Linked DNA regions of Homo sapiens: region 2 is linked to region 1. Evidence: promoter capture Hi-C in human tissues and cell types (Jung and others, 2019). All regions are on one chromosome and are shown on one strand. Each heading gives the region's core, a stretch centred on a gene start or on the middle of the fragment in contact. The rest is flanking DNA. Distances are from core to core; before and after follow the strand shown.

The links. Contacts are between HindIII fragments. The study calls those that stand out against the background at their distance.
Region 2: a fragment that was not itself captured here is called in contact with the fragment with the promoter of ALX1 in region 1 in 2 of the 25 tissues and cell types used here (mesendoderm cells and thymus).

The regions. Positions count from the first base shown.
Region 1 is chr12:85,277,419-85,282,513 of GRCh38, reverse strand. It overlaps ALX1 (ALX homeobox 1), which reads right to left and starts at 2,294. Exons shown (of 4, transcript NM_006982.3): 1 at 2,027-2,294. The coding sequence starts at 2,252. RefSeq lists a silencer at 1,909-2,203. The HindIII fragment of the contact is 12,363 bases long and covers 1-5,095 here.
Region 2 is chr12:85,866,893-85,871,987 of GRCh38, reverse strand. No RefSeq gene overlaps it. Among named protein-coding and RNA genes, the nearest start is that of NTS, 4.9 kb to the left of the region's middle. RefSeq lists a silencer at 4,600-4,699. The HindIII fragment of the contact is 6,135 bases long and covers 1-5,095 here.

The DNA of each region.
Region 1 (5,095 bases), core at 1,045-3,544:
AATGTATTTTTACAACTCTTTTCATCATTATACAAATATATTCAAGTTTAATGCGCATATAACTTCAATAGCTAATAATTGAGTACTGTGCATTTCAATGTCACTAACGGAGTAACTCTCAAAAATGTTCTCATAATAAAAAATGTCAAATATTTGAGGTGATGGCCAATTAACGTAATTTAATCATTCCACATTGCATTAAAAAAACTTAACATTACTTTGTACCCCATAAATATATACAACTATAATTTGTCTATATATATATATAACAAATTTTTTAAATTAACGGTTTTCATGCAAACGAAGATGTGATGTTAAACCAAATATAAAGAAGAGCCATGACTGATTAACAAACGGTTCTATCTCCTTGGGCAAAATTAAAGGGGGAACTGCAGCAATTAGGGATGGGGGAGGGGAAGCATCAGAGAGGCTAAGGGCATCTCAAGAGAAAGACAGGATCTCTCCTAAATTAAGCGGATGACTGCCTATGTTCATCTTCCTTAACACTTCTTTGTTATAATTCATCTTAATAGTGTGATATTTGTTTAAAAGTTGATAACGCATCAATTATGTCTCTTATTTTGGATTCTCGACTATTCAAAATAAAATATTATGATCAAGTCCATCCAGAGTCAATACAAGACATTGCAGAATCATTAAAGAAAGACCTGTCAATTCAAATAACGTTAGGCATGCACCTAAGAATTCCACAAATACAGATACCAGGTCTGAAACGCAGCCAGAAAACCAACAACTCAGTGTAAGAATAACAAAAAGTATACGCTCGAATCTTTCTAAATAAATGACTGAAACGACTTAGCTGATTATTTTCTCTATCATTTGCACCTTTATTTTTGATTTACCCTTAGTCAAAAGTTACTTGCAACGTTAAATAAAATTAGTTAAATATGAGATTAATAAAAGAAAAAAACTTGTGTTCAAAATATTTAGAAAATGAGCTTCTACAGGCCAGTGTTTTGTCAGATTTTGAATTTCTATAAAATAGGGGGCAGGGGGCTTGTTGTAAATATTTCACACTTAATTCGTTTGTTATTTTAAAGCAACCCGCCCCTTATAGCTTAACTGTGGAATATATACAATGATAAGGAGAAGTTCTCTTGGAATTGTAAACGTGCTTTAGCTGTCGCGATCTGAAATAATAGGTTAGTATTAGGTTACAAGATAGAAAAGATAGATGGTTTGTTTTGATAACATTTTGACTTGGAGATACTTGGGCATTCAAAGTTGAAGATTTCACCCAGAAGCATTCCAAAGACTCCTTAGGTGACTTTTAATGTGAAGTCATAAAAATACAAAACGTAGAATCTGGGAATGAGTGATTAGGCCGGGGATGGTTTGCCCGAAGCTATTTAGTGTGCTTTAGTGTTTAACAAACATTCAACGCGTGTTGTATTGCAAACGCAAAAAAAAGCAGAAATTACAAATTCACACACGCTAGAAATCTAGGGATCCTCAAACTTTGAAAATATATCGCCACGTCTTGGAAAATTAAAAAGATTTATCTTTACCTAAAGGAGCTCAAAGGGTTTTTTGTTTTTTGTTTTTGTTTTCCGGTTTTTTTTTCCCTACTCGTGACGACAGTGACGTACTCTAACGAGCTGTGATCGATTTCAGTTCCTACCGCCCGGACTGCAAGGCGGGCTCGCAGAGGAAGCGTTCTGTCTTGACTCAATTACGCTCTATTTAGCGCCCTATCAGTTTACTCCAGGAACCAATATTACAGAAGGACTCAGGGATCCGTAGGCGACCAGACCCTACAGCGAAAGGAGAATCGCTCAGAGGCAACCCGGTGCTGGATCTCTCCCTCCCTCCGCCCTCCGCCCCCAAAGGCTGCAGCAGCAGTAACACCGCTTCATAAAGCGAGCACCTTCCACTACCTTCCTCCACCTTCCAGGTCCCTCGCTCCCACTTTTCTCCTTTCTCCCTCCCTGCCTGATCAGACCGATCCTGCATTTTCGATTGCGGAAGGGCTGCGGCGGCTCCGGCTGGGGCGCTAGCGACTCACCGCTGCTGTCCTGACAGGGCGAGGTCCTCTCCAAGCGCACGTGATGCTCGGCGCGGGGCAGGGGTCCGAAGGCCTGCACGCATTTGCCTGCAGACGCTTTGCTGTAAAAGGACTCATTGTCCAGCGTCTCCATAACGTGCTCCAGAGGACCTCCTGCGCCCATGTAAAAGTCACTGTTTTTACTCGGAGGGCTCTTGAGGGCAAACTTCTCGCTCAGAAACTCCATAATCCTGGAAGACTGTCGCGTAGCTCCTGGGGCACAGAAACTGGAGAGCGCTGGGGGAGGGAGCCAGTGGGTGGGAGGAGGGAGGGCCAGAGAGGAGGGAAGGGAAAGCGAGCGCTGCGGCGTCGGGAACTGCCCCGCTCCGGTCCCTTTAATACGTCCCGGCTGGAAAAGGAGCACCCGAAGTTGCTTTTATATCTTGAAACTCAGCTGGCCTCCTCGGGCAGCCTCCCAGTTCTAATGAATATGAAAATAGGCGGGCGACTAACTCCACCCCAGGTCCCCCTCCGCCCCTACCCCACCCCCATTTTCCCCACTTACCCGGGCAGAGGGCGTCCAGGCCTAGGATAGACAGACAGACAGCTCCATTTCAGACAAATGCCAGGAGAGACGAGCCCCTGACACCCAGATTCATTGCCGCCGTGACAGTGGACTGGCATTTCGGAAGATCTTGGTGAGATCGCAAAGCAGTTAAACCTCCACTCCCTACTGCCTGCGCCTTCCTGAGCCACCCGTCCCCACCCCGCCCCCATGCCGGCCACTCACTACCAGAAAGATTTAGAGGCGTCTTAAGAACTTGAAAGGAAATATTGCTCTAAAAGGCTTTTATTTCATCCGTAAATCGTTTACGTGGAAGATTCACATTAATCCGAAGCCCAAGGAACCAGATGCATTGGCAACTGTTAATCGCAGCCGCCGTAGTAGAGGGGCCGCTTCGGCTTCTAACCGGGAGGAGCTCGGGGTCCGGGCCAGCTGGGAGCTTTACGAGGCCGTGGCCTTTTCTTTTTCTCTGGAATGCGGCGGAGTGTGGACGCGGTGGCGATGGGTGGGAGAGAGAAGCCGAGCAAGAGGCAATGAAGCCATTATACTAATGCCAACCAATTCCCTACACCCTCTTCGCCACCCTTCCCTTTGGTCCACGATTTTATCATTAGACCCAAATTATTTTAAGAAAACCCGTTAGGATCAGTGCCTTTGAAAGGCTTTTACTCTAATGCCAAAGTGAGGATTGTTACAAATAGGGGTTTATGAAGAAGAGGAATGTCTGCATATTTTTACAGAAATTACTTTTAATTTTAAAGAGTTGCTGTGGAGTTACTCCGAAAAGCGCTCTGGGAGTGAGTGGTGAGCGCGCGGAGCTGCGGGCACTCGCGGCGCGGCGTCCTGGGCGCGGACAGGTCCAAGGCCTCCATTTCCACCAGAGGGGATGGTAGGGCAGGCAGGACAGCACTGCTAGGTTGAAAGCCCTTCTGTGTGACTTTTGGCACGACTCTTGGCTTCCTAGGAGCCCGCGGCGCTTGGGGGAAATGCGTTCGGTGCCCTGGGCACAAAATCGCATTTGCGTCAGGCACCCTAAGCTAGCAAATTTGGTGAAAATAAGCCAGACAGGTTTTGGTCCAGGTAGGCCTCTGCTTAGACGTCCTGACACAGCCTTTGTCAACACTGGCACTCACAGCGGCCGTCGCGTTTCCCCAGACAAGTCTGGCAATTATGGTGAGGCCTCGGGCAGGCCGAGCAGCCCGGACTCTGAGGATGGTGAGGCCAAGCCCAGCTGTGGTGGGCATGCTGATGGGTTTGAGAGTTTCCACCTTCTGCGGGGGTCTTAGCTGACCCACGCCTCTTTGGTGAGACCTTCTTCGAGACCTGACCAGGCCTCAGCCAGAGAGTAACAATCAGGGAGGGCTGTGCACCCCGGAGCTGCTCCTTAGCGTTGCGCGAAAGGCAGGGTCGGCCTTAAGCACCCAGATCCGACCGGCGGATCCCGAGCAGATCAGCTGGCAGCAGCAGCCTTGCTCGCCCGGCCAAAGTCCAACCCAGACTGTTCTCCCAAGGAGGCGCACAAGCTTAGTTCACATGGCGCAGCGCTCAGTGTGGCCTTGAGCGCGCACTCAGATTCAGGCAAGTGGACACTATTCCTGGGACTAACTAGCTTCTGCTGTATTATTATTACTCTCTCCAGAGCAGTGCTGCAAGAACCAACTGCAGATTGTTAAATTTCAGGGGAGCAAGGTCAAAGAAAAGCACTAGGGACTGAGCTTCAGCAGGAAGCCAGGCTGCGTCGGGCCGCAGGAACTCCAAACCAGACAACCTGGCATTCTGAGGTCAGGCCCAGGGGGAGAGAGTGAGGTGTCGGAAGAAGCCATTGAAACGCTCTTCTTAAAGTGTCCTGTAGCATCCCGACCTTGCGTGAGCAGTAGCCTCAGCTCTGCGTTCTTTGGACACTTTCCAGCGGGCCCCCGGGCAGCCTTGTGGAAACGTTGAGTGTTGCGTTATTCACTCACTCCTGTTGGGTTAGCCATTTTCGATTCTTTCCTATCCCCTTCGGTACCTTCTTATTTTCAGGTATCCTGAAAGTCTGACTTTCTCTACTAAACACGGGAAAGATAAGAAAATGGTCGTTTAATATGTTTTACAAAAATTCACAGCAGCAACAACAACACCTATTGCTGACTTGAGGAAATATACAAACTAGTTATCAACCAAGTTATCTTGTAGAGCTCTGTCAGCTTGTTTATAAATATATGTCTTAAAAGCCCTAAATTTCCGGAAAAACATTACGTGTCTTTTAAATGAAAGACATGTGATACAAGTTCTAGGATACTTGTATGCCAATAAAGGTCCAACTCATAGAGAAAAGTACAGCGTAGCCAAGGACAAGAGCTGTCTAGTAAACCCGTTTCTGCCCCATTACCAAAACTCACTTTTGATGGTAATGGTTGAAGGGGTGGGGTGTAAGGTGTCACCAAACCAACATAATATCCCTGGAGCTCCCTGGAAACTCAAATATACTACACAGAATCCCGTGTGTTTTGTGACATGTAACCACATGTGCCCATAACAGAGGA
Region 2 (5,095 bases), core at 1,737-4,236, 590 kb before region 1:
GATTGTAGACACCTTGCTATGGAGATGGGTGAACTGTTTTTATTTTAAAGGCTTTTTACCCCAGATCCTTTTTCTTTTTTCTTTTTTTTTTTTTTTGAGATGGAGCTTCTCTCTGTCACCAGGCTGGAGTGCAGTGGTGTGATCTCGGCTCACTGCAGTCTCCACCTCCTGGGTTCAAGCAACTCTCCTGCCTCAGCCCCCCGAGTAGCTGGGACTACAGGCACACCACCAGGCCCAGCTAATTCTTGTATTTTTAGTAGAGACGGGGTTTCACCATGTTGGCCAGGATGGTCTCGATCTCTTGACCTCATGATCCGCCCACCTCGGCCTCCCAAAGTGCTGGGATTACAGGCGTGAGCCACCATGCCCGGCATACCTTAGATCCTTCTAAGGGTTACCTAGTTCTTAAAATATCTGATAAAGATTTTAAGCATTGTCCTTTAATAATATTCCTGTGTTGGCCTTCTTAAGTGGATGTTACCTGTTAGGTACCTGTTGATTACAACATCTCTAAAGTAGGTAGATTTCTAAGCTTGTACTGTTACTTATGTCAGACCTTTATTAGGTAATTGCTGAAAATAATCAACAGAGACACCTGAAGAATTGGCAGTTAGAAAGAGTGGTCTGTAAGCTTATTTTGTTTGGAGAAGGGCAAGCTCTGGAACCAACTGATCAAGGGTTGGTTTTTCAGTTCCTTATGGTTTTTTCCTATAGCTCTGGTGACTTTAATACCTCATTAACAGCTTCCAGGATTTTCCAATCTTTTGGTAACCTAAATACCTGAAACTTGGCCTGTTGTGTTTTTACAACCTGGAATCTCCCCTTCACCTTCCTATGATCATCCTGTATTTTATGGCTTAATCAACAAAAACATTTCCAAGTTTGAGTCCTGAAAGTAGTCTCGTCTACTTCTATTTTTCCTAGTTTTCTGTTAAATGCTCCGTAGTTTGTTTATACAGTTTATGGTAAACTGTAAACTGCTAGAAGGAGAACATTCTGACTTCTAAGGTTTATAATCCATAAGTGATCAATACATACTTACTAAATTAAATGAAAATACTGATTACGTTTAATTTCTTACATGCCCTTTCCATGTTTTAATTTTAAATGTTTCTTTCAGCCACACCTTTTAACACTCTTTTGTTATCATTAATCTTCATATTTTATGTGAGCTTTTATAGTCAGTTTTCTCAGCCTTTTCTCTCATCATCCTTTTCCTCTCTGACTGGAAATGTTAACTTTAAAAAAATCATTCAAGAAGATTGTCCTTGGATCATGTACAATCATCAGCTGAATGTTTAGATAAATTGTGAGTTTGCTCCATTTCTATAAATGAGTCTATCATTTGAAGCTGTAACTCTGATTCATCTGAACAAATAATGATGTCAAAGTCTGTGAACCCAATTGATTTTTCTGTTCAATTAAAGTATATTTTCTAGAAATACAGATGGATGTGTGCATGCATACACCCACATAGGATGTGTATAACCCAACCTTGGAGATTTAGGTAAATGTAAACAAACGTTCAGTTTCCCAATCTGCATGTAACCTTGCTTTGCCCATAATCCTTACAAATTCCTAGCTCATTTCCTTTCAGCTCTTCCTATCTCTGTTATTGCATCCATATAGGTAATTAACCTGGAAAAATTGATGACTGACTTCTGTAGTCAAAGCATATTTTGCAACTTAAACCGTAATTACAAAATACGGTTTGCTTGGGACTTACATGTTAATGAGTTACTGTATTTAACTAACCATGCTCCACATTGCAGCCATTGCTGACTTCACCTATAATCTTGCTTCTCGTGTCTAGGAAAAAATGTAAATACTCACAAAATCACCACCCATTATGTGTAATGCTCAGGTAGTTTTCCTTATAGGTCTCCCTTTTGAATAAGACCAAAATAAAAGTATTACAGAAAAAAATGTTCCTGACAAATTTCTTCTTTCATGTTTCTTAGTTTTATAAATTAGTGTAATTATCTAATGTAATAAATGAGACAAATTCTTATTATAAGAAAACTTTCTCTTTTCTTTTTTAATATTACAAAGTCTAAGAAAATTTCCATAGCACCTGCAATACCTGAAACAGAGCAGATGTACTTGAGCTACCGTCTATCAGGAGCAAATTCAGTGAAACACTTTTTTTCTTTTTCTCAAGAAGATATTACATGTTAAATTTGGAATGTAATGGTTTTATATTATTCATACTCCTTGGGTTTATGATTCTTTTTAAATTTACTGTGCTTTCCCAGTGAATCTGATAAGTCTTATGGTTTTGAATCCTATCTATTTCCTAATAACCTCCAAGTTTGTATCTCTGACTACTCAAATTGTATATGCAATCACCTCATTAGCAGCCCTACTTGGAGTTTCATTAGGCAGACTTATTGTCTAAAGTAAAACTTTTGATTCCTCCAAACATCTTTCTAATAATCTTCTGCCCCTCTAGAGTTTTTCATTTCAATTATTAGAACCATGATTTACTGAGTTGCACAGATCTAAAAACTAGAATCCATTTACATTGTTTCTCTCTCCCCTCCACTTCCAAGCTAGCAAAACCCCCTGGGGTGCAGGTCTGTTCCAAAATATATTTCAAATCTAACTACTTTTCCTTATGTCATTTTTGCCACCTAAGTCCAAGCCACCACCATCTTTCTCCTGCGCTGCCATAATAACCATTTGAGTAGTCTCCCTACAACCTTGATCCCTTTCAGCTTTCAAAAACTCCAGAAAAGTTTTTAAAAATGTAAATCTATTCCTGTCATTCTCTGCTTAAAACATTCTAAAGGTTTCCTCTTGTCATGCCTGATGATGGCCTATGCTACCTGAGTGGGTTTTGTCTTCCTCTCTATCATCATATTCCACCATTCTCCCCTTCTGTTCCTATGTTTCAAGCACATTGGTCTTCTGGCTTTTGTGCAACATGCTAAGCTTTTTTGTTAAAGATCTGCAATGAAAACTGTGATTACTGTTCATCAAATATTCATTCCCTTACTCCTCCCAGAGTGGATGAAATATACTTCCTCACTCTTTGACTTTAACTTAGGAAATGAGACTTGCTTTGGCCAGTGGGATGTTAGTAGACATAAGAAAAAGACAGACTTGATTTGTGCTTGACACATAGGGCTTTCCCTTTCTCTCTTCTGCCATTGCCATGAGAAACTCTTTTCTTTTCTCAGATGATCCCAAAATGAGGAGGGACATATGGAGCAAAGCTGCCCCAGCTGACTTGCACACCTGCAATGTAAGGGAGAGATTCCCGAGCTTAAAGCAGGGTTACCCTAGCTGATTCAGAGACATGTGAACAGAGTTAAATAATTTGCTTTAAAGTAATTGACTTTTGGAGTCACTTGTTATACACCATTTTTGTGGCAATAGCTGACTGATACAACCATTTATTTTAAAACCTATTTCACCACTATCCCCATTCAATCTCTACAAGTCTTTATTTGTTCATTTATTTTTGTCTTTTGTTAATAAAAGCATGGATATTCTTGTCTTGTTTCCCTAAATTATCAGAACATAAATAATTCTCCTCATAGTAATCATTCGGTAAATATTGACAATATGCGTTAATGAATTAATCGAATTCCAAGAATCCCTCCCTGATGGTTTTAGAATAAGCTACCACTCCCTCACCTCTCACAAGGACATTTTTATTCTCCAATCTGTGAATAATAAAATCCAGGAAACCTCTTTCGGAGAAATTCCTAGCAAAATGAAATAGTATGAAAAAATGCTTCCTTTCAAAGATTCTTGAATATTGATTTAATTTCAGTTGGAATTTTCTAAGTTGTCCTTGAGGAAAACTGGGTGTACGGTGTTACAGAAGGCCCCAAATTTGGTGAGCCAATTTGTGCAGAAAGGATAAGTACCGGCAAGCTGTCAGACAGAGAAGACTATAGTCAACATTAGAGCATTCTGAGTCTAGAAGAAACAGCCACTGTAACCACTACTACAGATCTAGGAGTAATCTAAAGAATACTTTTCAAATTCATTATTGAAAACCTACTATATGCCAGGTTAATTTTATTTCATGTAACATAGCATACCGTGAAGCAGAGTTCACAGGATATTATTCCTATTGTGCAGGTTAAAAAAAATAAGAGATACAAAGAGTTTAACTAAGGACAATGGGACTTACTAAGTAGAGTATGGGTAGGACTGCAATGTTTTCATTCCAAAGCAACAGCTAATCTTTGTAACATTAATACCAGACCCAAGTAATAAGTCAAAGAAAATCTTGTATTAACATGCTGTATAAAATATTATGCCAAACAAAGTATAGGCTAATACTTTTAACTTGAATGTACATTTAGTGAAAAAATTAGGTGTGATTTTAATTCCAATTCATCAGTTTAACCATGTTTTTCCACCTTTTCAGACTTAGCTGTATTACACATATTAAACAAAAACACAGACCCTTGATCTCAGAATCCTTCTTCTAAACACAGAGATCATGAAGAACCTAAATGGGCTCTGAATGCAATGAGTTGTCGTGACTGGGTAGAAGACAGAAAGTATGCATAGAAGAATCAGAGAAAAAGTGGGGTTTTAGCCTGAGGGGAGTCAAAGCTTGGTGCCTGGGAAGGAGAATATTTCCCACTTTGTACTCTAGGTGGCGGCACTAGTATGTACAGAATGGAAATATCAAGCAAGAACTCACAGTACTAGACCATATTTTAATGTCATCATAATTCATTGACCCAGAAAACGTAAAACTGAAAATGGCTGTATGGAGCTAGTCTCATACTTTCATTTTTCAGAGAAAGAGACAGAAGTCCAGATATTCTAGATGGGTTACAAATTTCCTTCACCTTCCGACTCTTAATCACATAGGTCCTAACTGCTCTGAGTCTGACCTCACTTCTTTTCTCAGGGGAAGGATTGATTCTCCAACATCGGTCAAGCTACTTTGAGAAATAATTTATTCTCTGTGAGTTTCTGTATAGCATCCCCACAAGTTGGAACACATCAAAGGGATTAGTCACTTTGAAATAGGCTTTCTTTTTGGACAGCCTATTTTTTGTCTTTATTCAGCAGAATGTCTTGCTTTTGGCACAATCAATTCTGTTGCTATCGTCCAGTAAAC